Regions from separate parts of the Homo sapiens genome. Here region 1 is linked to region 2. The links are contacts of gene promoters, found by promoter capture Hi-C in human tissues and cell types (Jung and others, 2019). All regions are on one chromosome and are shown on one strand. Each heading gives the region's core, a stretch centred on a gene start or on the middle of the fragment in contact. The rest is flanking DNA. Distances are from core to core; before and after follow the strand shown. Region 1 overlaps SCN8A (sodium voltage-gated channel alpha subunit 8). Region 2 holds the start of SCN8A (sodium voltage-gated channel alpha subunit 8).

Evidence for each region. The method cuts DNA at HindIII sites, captures the fragments that hold promoters and counts their contacts. A contact is called where the count stands out against the background at its distance.
Region 1: a contact is called between a fragment that was not itself captured here and the fragment with the promoter of SCN8A in region 2, in 3 of the 25 tissues and cell types used here (IMR-90 fibroblasts, dorsolateral prefrontal cortex and small bowel).

What each region holds. Positions count from the first base shown.
Region 1 is chr12:51,789,094-51,793,714 of GRCh38, forward strand. It overlaps SCN8A (sodium voltage-gated channel alpha subunit 8), which reads left to right. Exons shown (of 27, transcript NM_001330260.2): 24 at 188-325; 25 at 1,305-1,409. Among named protein-coding and RNA genes, the nearest start is that of TMDD1, 24 kb to the right of the region's middle. The HindIII fragment of the contact is 7,053 bases long and covers 1-4,621 here.
Region 2 is chr12:51,588,330-51,592,645 of GRCh38, forward strand. SCN8A (sodium voltage-gated channel alpha subunit 8) reads left to right here and starts at 2,904. Exons shown (of 27, transcript NM_001330260.2): 1 at 2,904-3,030. RefSeq lists a silencer at 2,407-2,656. The HindIII fragment of the contact is 14,911 bases long and covers 1-4,316 here.

The sequences.
Region 1 (4,621 bases), core at 472-2,971, 200 kb after region 2:
GGACGACTAGTGTCCTCTCAAGGCAGGCCATGCCAGTGTAGAGAAGGAGGCAGGCAGAAAGAATCTAGGGCTCTCCCACCCCAAGATGTTTAGCAGCTCAAATGGTCACAGTTACGGCTGATGGCCTTGGCGTGTCAAACTCCAAACTAGGAGCTGATTCTCTTCCTTTTATCCTGTCCTTTGACAGCCTGATGAGCAGCCTAAGTATGAGGACAATATCTACATGTACATCTATTTTGTCATCTTCATCATCTTCGGCTCCTTCTTCACCCTGAACCTGTTCATTGGTGTCATCATTGATAACTTCAATCAACAAAAGAAAAAGATAGGTCTCCTCCCCTCATTGCCAGTGGTTGGAAGTCAGCCCAGATAAGAGGCACCTTTGTCCCTATCTCTAGAAAGAAAATGTCCCTCTTTCTTTCTCTAAAATCTATATTGTTAGCTCACTGTGACCCTGGCCCCCATACGTTAGCCCCAACCCACTCTTTCTGTTCGGGGCTGGATTTTGCAGCATGTAGTTTACCACACTTACTAGCAGTCTTTTATTCTTGAGGCCTATTACTGGTCTTGGTCTCCCACCAGAAGCAGGTAGGTCAGAGAGTGCAGTCGAGCAACAGAGATGAAAAGGAAAGAAACAGATGAATAGCTATCGCAAGAAGTAGAAACTGTCTAGACTTGTGATTATCTAGTCAATCTCTGAGCACAAGCAAATTGGGATTTGAGAGACCCACCTTTGGAAAGTTTACTTCCTTACTTGTTCTAGATGGTTAACAAGTTTTACAAAGCAAATTGAAAAAATTGCTCGTTGCTCATTTTGTAAGTCAAGTCTATCCCAGCATACTCCAAGACACCCTCCAAATTGCTTTCTTGCACCAGAATTTCCAAATTTTGGGTATCATCTAAAATAAATTGGCTATCAGCCAGGACACAAAGATCTTTTTATTCTAAAATGTGTTTTCTAGAATGTATCAGGAAAGCTGGCCCCCAGAAAATGAGACTCTGAGATATGACTGCCTTCAGAGTCACTGCTCTCAAGTTTACCCTTTCTGAGGGTCTATAATTGGATAGTCCATTTCCTTTCTACCTTGGGACTGGAAGATCTTAGAAATCCTGAGCTAAAAACAAAGGCAGGTATCTCTTTAGAGCTGAATGATTATCGCGGGTCTACCCCACTCTGGGACAGCTATTAGCTACAAAGGAAAGGGATAGGTCTCCCCTCAGTTCTCAGTATTGAACCTTAGGTCCAAACCCATAGCATGTTGAGAGCCAGTTGTAATTGTCTGTTTTCTTCTTCCCTCCTTTACTTCGGAGGTCAGGACATCTTCATGACCGAAGAACAGAAGAAGTACTACAATGCCATGAAAAAGCTGGGCTCAAAGAAGCCACAGAAACCTATTCCCCGCCCCTTGGTAAGTGCATTGTGCAGGCTGAGGCCTTGGTGAGAACCCATATAGGAAAAGTACTAGTAGAGTTACTGCAAAGGAAGGAAAAAGGTAAGTGATTGGCTGCTTTGTGCCTAATCCTCTCCTCACCACCCATCCAAAAGATCTGAATAGGACAGCAGAAGAACAGGGATTAAGGCATGGGGGCTTTTACATCAATCCTCGACCTATCCTCTGAGCCTTCCTTGGGCAGCCACCAAGAATCAGCATGTGAACCACATTGGCTTTGGCCCTAGTAGAGAGATGTTTTTAGAGACAACCAAAAGTCAACAAGAGAAAATGAAATAAAGTTGCTCTCTTTCCTGCCAGTTCAAGATAGGATTTGGTCATAATTTTTTCAGCTTCTCTCTGCTCAATAAGGATGTCTTTGCAGGATGTATCTAGAAGTTAAAATCATGCTTCTGGTTATTTGTGGGAGCAGAAGAGGGTAAAACTATGGGAGTCTGGTGCCCTGATTGCCTCTCTTGAGCTGAGCCTTTTATAAAACAGATTAGGGGGCTGAGATTCTGCTCCATTGTTCCATTGGTGATGGTTGTCTTGTTTCAGAGAAGGAGAAGGAGATACCCTGCTCCTGATTCCATATATCCGGTTGGATGGGACATCACCCCCAAAAGCCAGGCCCAAAGTTCCTTCTTCTGTAACTTCCATTTAGCAACTTTAAAAAACAGACACAACACCACCAAAAAAACCCAGCAGAACCTTTAATACAAAAGCTTCCCTGATAATCTAATTTGTAGAAATAAAAGTAGAGTGACTATGTTTGAATCAAGAGTTATAGTTCCAGAACGTTTTCTCCCCTCACCCCCACACGCCGCACGTGGTACATCTACCGCATCAACTTTTGAAGGAAAAGAAATTCTAGGGCTTTGCAGGGCAGATTGAAAACCACCAAGTTAAAGTAATCCTGGAAATAAGCACCAGCCCAAGTATCTCAGTACTTCAAACAAACAAACAAACAAAAAAGCAAGGAATCTCAAGAAAGAGAACATTTGGGGTTTTTTATTTCCTTGATGTTAAGCCTTCATTTTGTGATAGAAATGGGACTAAAGGGAATAGAAAAGGGTTAACATTTCTAAAGTTCTGTTTAGTACTTTCCATATGGGAACCTGAGTGTATTTTCTTCCACATTAAAATATAACTTCCAGCCTAGGCAACATAATGAGACCCCATCTCTACAAAAAAATTTTGTAAAAAGTAGCTGGGCGTGGTTATGTGTACCTGTGGTCCTCACTACGTAGGAGGCTGAGGTAAGAGAATTGCTTGAGCTTGGAGGCCAAGACTGCAGTGAGCCATGACCGTGCCACTGTACTCCAGCTTGGGCAATAGGGAGGGACCCTGTCTCAAAAAATACAAAATAAAATAAAATATTTTAAAAAGTAGGAAACATTAATAAAGAGTGATTAACATTCATTTAGCAAATATTTATCAGTCTTTACTATGTACCGTGCACTAAGCATTATGTGATGAACAAAAGGTAGACTGCTGTCATGGAGCTTATAATAGTTGGGGAGATAGATAATAAATAAGTAAGCAAACAGCTACAATAAAATGTGGAAGATTGTAGGAAAAAAATTAACTAGAGGGCTATAAGTGGTGGATCTACTTTAATATAGTAGTCAGAGAAAGCCTCACTAAGGAGGGTCTACTTGAGTGGATGAGAAGGAACTGGCTGGGCACGGTAGCTCATACTGTAATCCCAACTTGGGATCTAGAGGCAGGCAGATCGCTTGAGCCTAGGAGTTCTAGACCAGCCTGGGCAACACAGTGAAACCCCATCTGTACAAAAAAAAAAAAAAAAATTAGCCGAGCCTGGTAGCATGCCTGTAGTCCCAGCTACTGAGAAGGCTGAGGTGAGAGGATGGCGTGAGTCCAGGAGTCAGGGCTGCAGAGGATATGGTAAGCTATATCATGCCACTGCACTCCAGCCTGGGGAAGACAGCGAGACCCTATCTCAAAAAAAAAAAAAAAAAAAAAAAAAGATGGAACCAAAGAGCTGGGGAAAGAGATTCCTGGCAGAATACACAAGACCCCAGAAGCAGAAAACAGTGTGGCCAGGGGGTGGCGAGCCAGAGGAGGGACATTGATGAGCAGAGTCAGACTGTGCCAGGTGTCTCCCCGTAAGCCAGGTTAACAAATAGGGATTGTGTTGCAAGCCCAGTGGGAAGCTCTTGAAAGGTTTTAAGTAGGGGAATGATGTGATCCATTTGTTTTTTGTTTTATGTTTTGAGACAGAGTCTCTCTCTGTTAACCAGGCTGGAGTGCAGTGGCGTGATCTCGGCCCACTGCAACCTCTGCCTCCCAGGTTCAAGCAATTCTCGTGCCTCAGCCTCCCGAGTAGCTGGGACCACAGGCGCCTGCCACCATGCCCGGCTAATTTTTGTATTTTTAGTAGAGACAAGGTTTCACCATGTTGACCAGGCTGGTCTTGAACTCCTGACCTCAAGTGATCAATTTTGGGAGGCCTCGGCCTCCCAAAGTGCTGGGATTACAGGCGTGAGCCACCGCACCTGGCCATGATCCATTTGTTTTAAATCATTACACTTGCTATTATATGAGGACTGCATTGGATGAGGGCAAGAGAAGAAGTGGGAGACCAGTTAAGTGGCCATACAAGTCCAGATGAGAGATGATGGTGGCTCAGGTTAGCATAGAGCCAATAAAAATGGAATGAAGTGGATGAACCCAAGTTATAATTTTGGAGGAAGAATCAACAGGCCCTTCAGTGGATCAGATGAGGGAGAAGAAAGAGACAAAGATGATGCCCAGATTCCTGGCTTGAGAGCCTGGATGAATAATTGAGATGAGAGGAACAAGCTGGGTGAGGGGCAGGGAACAGACTTGGCTCTGCTTTGGACTTAACTGTGAGAGGCTTGGACATGGTAAGTTTGAGATGCTTATGAGTCATCAAGAAGAAGTGGCAAGAAAGCAACTCAGGATCAGAGGAAAGGTATGGGCTGGAGAAGAAAAGCTTAAGCATAAGTACATAGGTATCACGTAAGCAGCAGGAATAGATGAGCTCTCATAGAGCAAAAATTTAGAGAAAGAAGGGATTGAGAGAAGAAATGGCTGGCAGATGAGACCAAAAAAGGAGCAGCTGGGTAAGTAGGACGACAGCCAGAGTGTGTGGTGTCACAGACGCAAAAGAGAAGTGGGTCAGCTGGGTATAGTGGTGCACACCT
Region 2 (4,316 bases), core at 1,654-4,153:
GAAGGGCAAAGTCAAGGGCTGAAAGTACCTGATTTCAAGATTTATTATAAAGGCAGAGTAATCCAGACAGTGTGGTATTAGTGCCAAGACAGAAAAATATATCAATGAAACAGAAGGAGAGTTTAGAACTAGATTCTTACATACTTGAGTAAACGATTTTTTGCAAAGGTGCAAGGGTAGTCAGTGGAGACAGGATAGTGTTTTCAACAAATAGTATGGGGACAACTATATATCTATGCAACAAAACAACAAAAGAACTTCAAACTACATTTCATACCACATACAAAAATCAATTCAAAATGGATTATAAACCTAAATGTAAACTCTAGAACTATAAAATTTCCAGAAGGAAACATAGGATAAAATATTTGGGGCCTTGTGTTGGGCAAAAACTTATTAGACATGACATTAAAAGCATGATTCATAGAAGAAAAAATAATAAACTGAACTTCATAAAAATTAAGAAGGTCTAATTTTTTTTTTTTTAAGAGACAGGTTCTGGCTATGTTGGCCAGGCTTGAGTGCAGCAGCTATTCACAGGCCCAATTATAACACATTATAGCCTCCAACTTCTGGCCTCAGGAGATCCTCTTGCCCGAGCCTCCCGAGTAGCTGGGACTACAAGTGTGCACCAGGACAACTGGCTGAAGAACCTCTGCTTTTGGAAAAACACTGTTAAGAGAGTAAAAAGAATAAAAAGATAAGCCTAAACTGGGAAACAATATTTGCCAATCACATGTCTGACAGAAGATTTGTATCCACAATATATAAACAACTCTTTAATTTTTTTAAAAAAATTTTAGAATCAGAGTCTCCTGTGTTGTCCATGCTGGACTTGAAATCCTAGGTTTAAGCAATTATTCCTGCTCAGTGTCCAGAGTAGCTGGGACACCAGGCATGCGTCACTGAGCCCAGCCAGGATATATAAACAACTCGTAAAACTCAATTAACAAGAAAAAACCCCACCAATTTTTAAATAGGCTAAAGACTTGAAGAGACACTTCGCCAGGAGGATTTACAGATGACAAGTCCATGAAAAGATGTTCAACATCTTTAGTCACTAGTGAAATGGACGACAGACCCACAGCGAGATAAAACTACACATCTATTCAAATGGCTAAAATTAAAAAGACTGATCACTCCAAATGTTGGTGAGGATGTAGAACAACTGAAATTCATGTGCTGCTAGTAGGAATGGAAAGGCACAACCACTTTGGAAGGCAGTTTGGCCCTTTCTTAATATGTTAAATATACACCTAAGACAGGACTCAGTTATTCCATTCCTAGATATTTATACCCACGAGAAACGAAAGCATATATATCCATACAAAGACCTGCACACGAAAGCTCATAACAGCTTTGTTCGTAACGGACAAACATTGGAAATAACCTAAATGTCATCAACAGGTGACTGGATAAACACATTGTGGTGTATCCCCATAAAGAATACTACTAAGCAGTAAAAAAGAACTCTTGATAGGCAACGACTGAATAATCTCAAAACGATTATGCCGAGTGGAAGAAGCCATACAAAAAAGAGAGTTTGTACTGTATGATTCCATTTATTTAAAATTCCGGAAAATGCAAACCAATGTACAGTAATAGAAAGAAGATCAGTGGTTGCCTGGAGAGGGTGTGTGGGGGCGAGCGATGCAGGGAGTGATTACAAAGAAGCACACGGAGAAATTTTTGGAGGTGATGGGTGTGTTCATTACCTTGGTGGTGATGGTTTCATGAGTGCACACATAACTCAAAATTGTACAATCTAAACACACGCAAATATACCCCAGTAAAGCTAATTTTAAATGTATTGTAGAGGGCACATTATGTGATAAGCATACCATGTGCCTGGCTGTGTTAGCAATGTGTGAAGTGCATGCTCCCCGTTAGTACAAACAAGAAGTTTATAAGGTTGCTACTGTGACTGTTTCCTTTTACAGACGAGAACACTGAGGTTTGGAGAGGTTGTTACACCCTTTTTCCCTCTTGTGATTGGTGGTAGGAAAATATTAAGTAGAGGAGAGACACAGTAAAGTGCCAAGAGCTCTGGCACTCATTACCTAGATCCTCGCGAGGGTGGAGTGAGCGGTCGAAATGCTCATGCCTACTTTACAGATGGACAGACTGAGGATCGGAAAGACTGAGGTGGCCTGGGGGCTGTCAGGGAGGCAGCGCCTCCCCGCTCCTGGCAGCAGGTCCCTGTGGGCTGAAACACGAGCCTCCACCTGCCGCTGATTGACTTCTCGTTTTTTCAGTGGGCCCAAGATCCTGTAAATTGAGTTCCCTGCGCTTTTGGATGTCAGAAACTTCACTGAGCGCGGCACTGTTGGGGGGCAGGAGAAAGGTAAGACTTGGCACTGACGCGGGCCACAGAGCACGCGGGTCACCACGACAGCTTTCGGGTCTCGCCGCCCGGCGCTGGCGAGCAGCCAGCCAGCGTCTCGCGGCGGGTCCCGGTCCTCAGCCCGCGGCCCCTCCCGGCGGCTCGGCGGGGGCGTAGTGGAGGCGGGCCCGGGGACGCTCGCTGGCGCTCCCGCGCGGCGCCCCCTGCCGGCGCCCTGTTCCCTCTTGCCCCTGATCCGCTCCCGGCGGCGCGGAGACGCGAGTCTGAGAGCCTGCGGGCGGGCGGCGCGCTGCAGGCGAGCGGGCGAGCGGGCGCGCCCTGCAGGGGTAGGTGGGCCGCGGGGGCGCGGGCGGGCGGGCGCGAAGCGCAGGGAGGGGGCGGGGGCGGTGGCAGCGGCGCTTGCGGGCCGGGGCCGGCCCGGGCAGGGGGCGCGCGCGGAGGGGTAGGCGCGGGGGCGGGGCGGGCGGGGGGCCCGGCAGTAGGGGCGCGCGCGCGGTGGCGCGCGGCGGGCGCGAGTCATCAATTATGCAAGGACTCGGGCGGTGCGGGGGGCGGGCGCGGGGAGCGCTCCAAGATGGCGCCCACCGCAGTCCCGCCCGCCGCATCCTCGGCGCCTTTGCAGTCCGGCCGCGCCTCCCGGGCCCCGCGTTAGGGCCGCCGCTGCCTCCCTCGCCGCCGCCGCTGCCGTAAGTCGCCCCAGAGCCCCCGCCCTAGCGCTGCTTCCTGCCCTCCGGGTTTCCCTTCTCGCCTCGGGACCCTTGAGCGGGGCTCGCCCATCTCCAGTCAGGGGCTTTGCCGCAGAGTGCGCGGCGGGGCTCCAGGGGCCGTGGAGCTGGGGCTCTGCTCTCCTTGTTTTGGACAGGTGTTTGGAACTCTTGCTTCCTTCTACTGTGTGTACCGGGGGTCTCTTAAGAGAACTGAGGACCACCAGTCCCCACCCCGGACACCCTGCTTTCTCCGTCTCGGCTACAGTGAGGGACACGGCCCGTCCTTGGTGCCCCTTCCGCGGTGCAGCCCTCCATCCCTCCCTCAGTGCCGGGCAGAGTTGGGGCCCCTAGCCGGCTTGCACTGGGAAGGGCAGCGCTGTCGGGATCTTCCTACAGCAGCCCCTCAGCCCTCCCCCTCCCCCATGTCTTACTGCATCCTTCTCCCTCAGCCGGCTTCACACTGCTAAAAACTGCAGAAGCCAAGGGCTCCTGGGTTCTTCCCGCAGCCAGCACTCCCGACTCCCTCTGTCCTTTACTCGGATGCGTTCGTCCCCCTCCCAACAGGGTGCTCTGGAGTTGTGATGGGGGCTCCCGGGACCTTCCTCGGCAGGCGAGGATTCCTGCATTTGGAAGCACATCACTTTGAGAATATCCCCTTCCCCCATCCCACCCCCACCCCCACCCCCCACCCCCACGCCACCCGATGCAGAGCTTGTTCCTCTCCTCTCCCTCCCCCACCTTACCATCAGCAGCAGCACCCTTGGCTTCTTGTTAGCGTTGGGGTACAGGACTGTTTGCCCAGCTCCGTGGGCTTGGACCCTCCTCTCTAGTTCTCACTTGGTACCTTGGGGCACCGCAAAGCCTCTGCAGTTTCTCCTGAGAGCTCAGCTCCATCCCCTCCATTGCCAGCAACAACCACCGGTGGAGACTTGGCTAACTTTCCAGGGGTTAGCCAGGACTGTCAGACCCTTTCAGGGGCCCCAGCTTCGAGTTGGGATGGAATGGGAACCATTTTTCAGCCCGATAAATAGGATTCTTCAAACCATGCATTCCATCCGACTACTCCACCCTATGCCCTCTTCCTCACTTACACTGCAGTTTTTGAAGCATGAGGGAATACATTTTATGTCCGGAGATTCCAAGGTTCTGCATCAGCGTTCATAATAAATGGATGTCATCTGTTTGGGGGGAGGGTAGAAGAAACTTTGGATTGCATCTGGCTAAAGTCAGGGGGAGGGAGAAATAATTAGCATGGAGCAAGCTCT